2 separate regions of the Homo sapiens genome follow, and region 2 is linked to region 1. The links are contacts of gene promoters, found by promoter capture Hi-C in blood cells and fetal thymus (Javierre and others, 2016). All regions are on one chromosome and are shown on one strand. The core of a region is centred on a gene start or on the middle of the fragment in contact, and the rest is flanking DNA. Distances in the headings are between cores, read along the strand shown.

Region 1 (3,482 bases), core at 520-3,019:
TTCCAGGGTACCTACTGGGTGTCAGGCAACACCCCACCTGTGTGTGGGGCACTAATATCCCCACCTCATCATGGACAACAGTGCAACCTGCACCCGGGTGCTCATCTGCGGAGCTGCACACACGCCCCTAACACACACATGTGGCGGACACGGACACACACCCAACAGCAGTTCAGCCTCTCAGCTTGGTCAGGATTAGAAGGAGAGGCCCTGGGGAAGAAGAGGGGTGCTGATGGAGAAGGGAGATAGAAGGGGTGGGATGGAGTAGAGAGGGGTACTGAGGAGGCAGGATGGGGCGGGCGGTCAGGCAGTGGTGGGTGCAGGATGCGCTGCGCAGAGACACCCTTTAAGGAAACAGCCATCGGCCTCAATCATCAGGCTGGCTCCTGAGCTCCCACTCATTGATCTCTGATCAATCTGGTTTGGCAGCTCAGAAACCCCAGTGCTCCCTTCCAACACCCCTGTTATAAGCAGCGGCCTGGCCAGGCTGGGGAGTAACCGCCCAGGTTCTAGGGGCAGCAAGAATCGAGAATTGCCAGGGTAAGCCTCAAGCCCCCTTGACCACACAAATGGCACCCACCCCCCACCACCACAGACACATACGCTCAACTCAGCTAAGTGCATGGGGGGCAGAGATCAGGAGGCCCCCACAGCTCAGCCTAGGTGAAGGCTCAGGGACAGCAGACAAAGGATGCAGGGGAACTTCCTCCCCCCAAGCCCCTCCCAAGGGAATGAGGTGGGCTGAGGGCTGAGTTAGCAGTGGGTTAGGGTGACCAATGGGGCATGCAGGGGCCAAGAAAGGCTATGGAGTTTAAGGAAGAAGGGGAAACTGGCGGACCAACCACACACAACTCTGGCCCCCCGCACCAGGGAGGCCAGGAGCCACAGCCCCGGCCACCGGGACCGCGGCGCTTTGACTGTGCTGGCTGCAAGGACTGGGGGCTGGTGTATGCGCCTCCACGCCTGAGTGTGTGCGTGTGAGAGCGTGTGTGGCGGGGACAGAGGAGGACACTGTGTTCTGGACGTGGGCAGAGGCCAGGTGCCAAGCTGGGAGATTGTGAGTGGCTGTTTAGGGCAGATGCTACCGGGAAGAGGTATCTTAAACGTTCCCCGCACCCCCCATTTCCTGGGCACTGGGATAGGCTCAAAACCCTCTAATCTTCGAATCCTCAAAGTCAGGCTCCCTGGGGTTGATCCAAACCCCCAGCCCTGCTCCGGGCCCAGGCAACCAGCAAACTTCCCCCACCCGGAGGCGTGGGGTGTCTACACTCGCCAGCCCCGCGGGCTGACAGCTGCTCCTGGACTTGGCAGAACCCAGGCTTCCGGGAGAGCGCGCGGGGAAGCTGCGCAGCAGCAAGAAGAGCCCCCCGCGTCCCGCCTCGCAAAGTTTGGCCTCGGGGGGCTCCCAGCCGGGTCTGGCAGCGCTGGTCAGGGACCCCCAGAGCAGCGAGCGTTCGCGCGCACGGTCCCCCGCAAGCCTCCCCAGAGCGCGCGCGGCGTGACTCACCCGAGCCGCGGAGCCAAGCGGCGAGGACTATGCCCAGGAGCGCTGGCCACAGGCCGGGCCGGACGGCCATGGCCGCGGGCGGGCAGGCGGGCGGGCCGGGCGCGGGGCCCCGCGGGCGGGAGGGCGGCTTTAGCGCCTCAGCCCGGAGCCCCAGCTCGGGGCGCCCCCGGGGCCCATGCCAGCGGACTGCGCTGCCTCCGGGCGGCCGGCTGCCGGGCGCACGCGGCGCGTGGCTCCCTTGGGCACGGGAGCGCAGCAATGCAGCCGGGGCGGAGCGCAGCGCCAGCCGCGCCGCGCACCGAGCCAGCCGCGCCGCGGAGCCCGCAGCCGGAGAGCGGGCCGGTGGGCGCCGCAAAACCCGGACTGGAGCGACGGAGCGGGGCGGCGGCTGGGAGGGGCGGGGGAAGGAAGGAGGGGCCGGGCCGCCCCGCGCAGCGCGCGCGGGCCACCCCCAGCACCGGGAATCCCTCTGGGCGATGCCTGAGGCTCCCCCAGGGAGGGGCTTGGGGTGGTGGGCGTGGAGGCCTCCCACCGCCCCGCGGGGTCTCCAGGGACAGGGGCAGGAGTCTGAAACCCGGAGTGGATCGGTGCTCCGGATCCGGGCTCTCGCGGGCCCGCCAGTCTGCGCACAGGTGGCCCGGGAGGGGCCCGGGGCTGCGGCGACCCCGGCGCGGCGCCAGCCTGCGGAGAGCCGCCCAGGGCAGGGGTGCCCCGGGCAGGTTCCGCTGCAGTCCTCTCCCCCGCCCTTTCCTCGCGGCCGCGCTCCGGGGTCGTCCGGGCGCCGCGGTACGCTGCCAGCCCGCGGCTTGGTTAGGGGACTGCGGGAGAGCCCCGGGGCCCTGGCCCGCGCGCAGAGGTGCCCTGGCCACCAGAGCTGGCAGGCCAGACTCGGGGACACCCGCAGTCCCAGCCTCGCAGGCTGGTGGATTCCAGGGGCGCGCCTCACACCATGACCCAAGGTTTCCCTAACCCCTCGGCGCCGTTCGCCGAAGGAAAACAACCTTCAGGCGCAGCACACCCGACTGGGCGCGCGGTGTTTGAGCCCCGAGAGCGCACGGCGCCCGCGACGTGGGTGTAAAGGAACGAGCTGGGCTTTGGCAGCTAGGGAGACCGGGGGTAGGGTCCAGGCGACTTCACCTTCCAGCTCTGTGACCTTGGTCAAGTCACGTCGTCTCCTGGAGCCTCCAGCAGTGACCGCTGCTGGAGTCTCCTGTGCCCCACCCCCATTCCCTAATCGGGTTAAAATAAACAGAGGGCTGCCTTGAAGGAGAAAGGAAATGACAGCCGCGTGCGGTGTGCCTGGGGGGAGTGATCGGAAAAAGAGAGGGTCCTAGTCTGGGTCGGGAGGGGAATGAGCAGGGTGAGGGCAGGGTCGCAAACTCAAACGCCTACGGGGCCGGTCGATAATATAAATTGGCGCTGCAGGCTAGGCGATGTAAGGGATGGTCTTGCTTCCACAAAGAGATATGAGCTCTCCTATATTTCTTGAGACACGAGGCCCTCTCTCGGTCTGTCTTTTGTTTCCCACTTTTGATAGAGAAGGGTTATGAAAAATGTTTTGCTTTCCTCTTAAGTCTACTATAAAAAACACCAGCTAAAGCTCCAGAGGCAACCATACAGACGCTGGGCTCCATCGCCAGGGAGGCAAAGGGCAGTGCTGGGGACAGGCACAAGGATCCCATCTCAAGGGGCAGCTGCCTTTTCTGCTCCAGGTGCTGGTTGTCGGGGGAGGGGACCGGGGCACAGTATAGCCGCATCTTCCAAATTTTCAACAGAAGCCGTCGTATGTGAAATATTCTGATTTAAAATTTTTAACTAGTAAAAAATAATTTTTTAGACTTCATGTGAGCCCAGGGGAAAGTGTTCACCACCTTCTGGTTTGGGAACTTTGCTTTCGGGGCAGTTTGAATGTACACGGTGTCAGGGCCTGATCAACTCACATGTCTCGTGTGTGTGTGTGTGTGTGTGTGTGTGT
Region 2 (3,482 bases), core at 425-2,924, 260 kb before region 1:
GCTGCTCAGCCTCTATCAATTTTTCTGGCTCTCAGCGAACGTTTTCATTCAGTTGCAAGACACAGAAACTCAAATTCAAACCTGCTTACACAAAATAGTGAATGTACTGGCTCATGCACTTTTTAAAGAGATGAGGTCTGTTGTGCTGCCCAGGCTGGATGTGAACTCCTGGGCCTAAGAAATTCTCCTGCCTTAGTCTCCTGAGTAGCTGGGACTACAGGAGCATGACTGTAAGTCCTGGTGTGAATCAGGCTCCAGAAACAGCTTGATCCTGGTTCCCAACAGTATGGTCAAAACTCATTCTCTCTTCTGTCTTCTTCTCTATGACAGGTGCTCCCTAAGAAGTGACAAAGAAGGCCACTAACAGCTCTGGGCTCGAGACATTCCCACTTGGCAACTTCTCAACTGTTCTGGCAAAAGCCAGGAGAGTGGAGGTCTTCCCCACCCGGACTACATAAGCTGAGGGTGGGGTTTTTCAAAGAAAAGCTTATTATAGGAAGAAGGGTAAACAGACACTAGGAAGCTTCTGATTATTATACCTAGTGATTCTGTGAGCCTTTACTGCACAAACTGTTCCCAAACTTAATTATTTAAAACAATGTATTATTTCTCACAATTCTGTGATTAGCTGGGCTCAGGTGGCAGTTCTGCTTATGCTGTGGATTGGCTATGCTAGAGGGTCTGGGATGTCCTCCCTCACATGTATGGAGCTGGCTGTTGGCTTCTCTCTCTACCTGGTCTGTGGTCGCCACATGGTCTAGCCCAAACTTCCTTTCACAGGGTCAGGAACGGAAGCTGCATGAGCACTTAAGTCCTAACCTTGGAAGTCGTACAGTCATGTTACTGAATTCTCTGATCAAAGCAACTCACAAGACTAGTTCAGATTCAAGAGACTGGGAAATGGACCCCCCCCCTCCCCCGCCCGCCCGATCTTGATGGGAGCAATGATAAAGTCACATTGCAAAAGGACACAGGCACAGGGAGGCAATGATTCATGGGAGGCCATTATTGAAACAATCAACTGTGTTCCACAACTCGCCTCTTCTAGTTCCTTTCACTAAGCCTCCTCCCACCCCAGCAACCTGGCTCCTTTGACCTTCATGACCACTAGAGGATCATCTCCCTCAATAAGTCTTTCCGGCCAGGTGCGGTGGCTCACGTCTGCAATCCCAGCACTCTGGTAGGCCGAGGTGGGAGGATCGTTTGAGCTCAGGAGTTCAAGACCAGCCTGGGCAACACAGTGGGACCTTGTGTCTACAAAAAATAAGATAATTAGCTGGGTGTGGTGGTGTGCGCCTGTAGTCCCAGCTACTCGGGAGGCTGAGGTGGGAGGATCACTTGAGTCAGTGAGGTCGAGGCTGCAATGAGCTGTGTTTGCACCACTGCATTCCAGCCTGTGTGACAGAGTGAGACGCTGTTTCAAAAAACAAACAAAATAAATGTCTTTCCTGTGAAATCCCAGCAATGGTCCCTACCAGACCATACCCATTTTTATTCATTTATTCATTAATGTATTCAATCACCAAGCAGTTATTAAAACATAAGCACAGTCCTATGCTAGGGACCAGGGATGCAGTATCATAAGACCCAATTCCTGCCCTCAAGCAGTTTCTAGTCTAAAAGAAGAGACAGGGAATTAGATCATCGTAACACAGCATATTAAGGGCTATGCTAGAGGGGAACACAGGGCATCTGGGAACACAAAGGGCAGCCAACTTGGCCTTGGGGGCCAGTGATCTCTGGATGAGTGGAGGTCCCCAGGTTGACAAGGGGAGCTGGAGCAAGTATTAGGCAGAAATCTTGGTTGCAAGTTATAGAAACTCAACTGACTTAAAGAAAAGTCATAACTAAAAAGTCCTGGGGGATATTAGCTTCAGGCATAGCTGGATCCAGGTAGTCATCAGAAATGAGTCTCTCCTTATCTGGAGTACAGTGGTGTGATCTCGGCTCACTGCAACCTCCGCCTCACGGGTTCAAGCAATACTCCTGCCTCAGCCTCCTGAGTAGCTGGGACTACAGACGTGCGCCACCACGCCTGACTAATTTTTGTATTTTTAGTAGAGACAGGGTTTCATCATGTTGGCCAGCTGGCCTTGAACTCCTGACTTCAAGTAATCTGCCTGCTTTGGCCTCCCAAAGTACTGGGGTTACAGGTGTGAGCCACCGAGCCCGGCCTCCTCTGTGTTGGCTTAGTTCTGAAGCAGGCTGTCCTTACATGCTGGACACTAACAGCTGAAGACTATGACTGTGATTACTCAGTCGGGTCACAGGCTCACTCCTGGAATCAGAGAGCAGGGCCAGTCCCTCGGAACCACAGGATCTGAGAATGGAGCAGGTTTGTCACCCAAAGGAGAAAAGGAAAAGAAGGGCTGTGGAGCTGGCCTGACATCAGGTGTACTTCTAGACAGGTGACTAAGTTACAGCCCTCAAACAGAGAGGGCCTCCTGAGGGAAATGTCCTGAGGGAAGGGGAAATCGGCCTTGGGAATGAGCAGAAGTGCTAAGATCAAATCTCTCTCCAAGGCTACTTCTTGGTTGTGTAAGCTCTGCAAGACTTTGTCCCTGACTTTCTCCTGTGAAATCAAGTCTTTGCCAGTTGTCCTGAGGGTTAACTGAAATAGCATATACAGGGGCTCGTGAAGTCACCCTGTTCTCTTCCCATTAAATCAAACAGTAAAGTCCCAGGGCTGGTCTACCTTGCTAGAAAAAAGAAGCTGACTCCACCTAGTGGCTAATGGGGTCATTGCACTGAAGAGTTGAACATTTACAGAACTGCGTTCTGATATTCCTAGACAGATGAAGCAGCATATATGAACAGTAAGCTTGGGAGAGACAGGCCGGGGACGGGTCTGCCCTGTCTCTGTAACAGGGCTTTGCACAGGGCAGAGAGGTGAGGTTAGGTGGATGGATGGTCAGAGGGAGAAAGTGTTCTTCCTATTGTATTTTACACTAGTGACTGCTCATCAGAGCATCTGGTTTGGGGGTGGGGACAGCTCATCTGGCAGGGACTGCTGTGAGGGAAGGAAGGGCTTTCTTCTTCTTCTTCTTTTTTTTTTTTTGAGACAGAGTCTCGCTCTGTCGCCCAGGCTGGAGTGCAGTGGCACGATCTCAGCTCACTGCAAGCTCCGCCTCCCGGGTTCATGCCATTCTCCTGCCTCAGCCTCCCGGTAGCTGGGACTACAGGCACCCGCCACTACGACCAGCTAATTTTTTGTATTTTTAGTAGAGATGGGGTTTCACCGTGTTAGCCAGGATGGTCTCGATCTCCTAACCTTGTGATCCGCCCACCTCAGCCTCCCAAAGTGCTGGGATTACAGGCGTGAGCCACCGCGCCTGGCGCCTGGCCCCTTTTTTCTTTCTTTCTTTTTTTTTTTTTTAAGAGGCTCCCATTATGTTGCCCAGGCTGGATTTGAACTCCTGGGCTCAAGCGATCCTCCTGCCTCAGCCTCCCGAGCAGATGGGATTGCAGGCACGTGCACCACA

The links. The method cuts DNA at HindIII sites, captures the fragments that hold promoters and counts their contacts. A CHiCAGO score of 5 or more calls a contact.
Region 2: a contact is called between a fragment that was not itself captured here and the fragment with the promoter of UNC5A in region 1, in 4 of 17 cell types (endothelial precursors, M0 macrophages, M2 macrophages and 1 more). The highest score is 8.9, in endothelial precursors.

Annotation. Positions count from the first base shown.
Region 1 is chr5:176,808,846-176,812,327 of GRCh38, reverse strand. It overlaps UNC5A (unc-5 netrin receptor A), which reads right to left and starts at 1,769. Exons shown (of 15, transcript NM_133369.3): 1 at 1,508-1,769. The coding sequence starts at 1,577. The HindIII fragment of the contact is 10,823 bases long and covers 1-3,482 here.
Region 2 is chr5:177,071,261-177,074,742 of GRCh38, reverse strand. It overlaps a transcript of ZNF346 not described here. Among named protein-coding and RNA genes, the nearest start is that of FGFR4, 14 kb to the left of the region's middle. The HindIII fragment of the contact is 2,298 bases long and covers 526-2,823 here.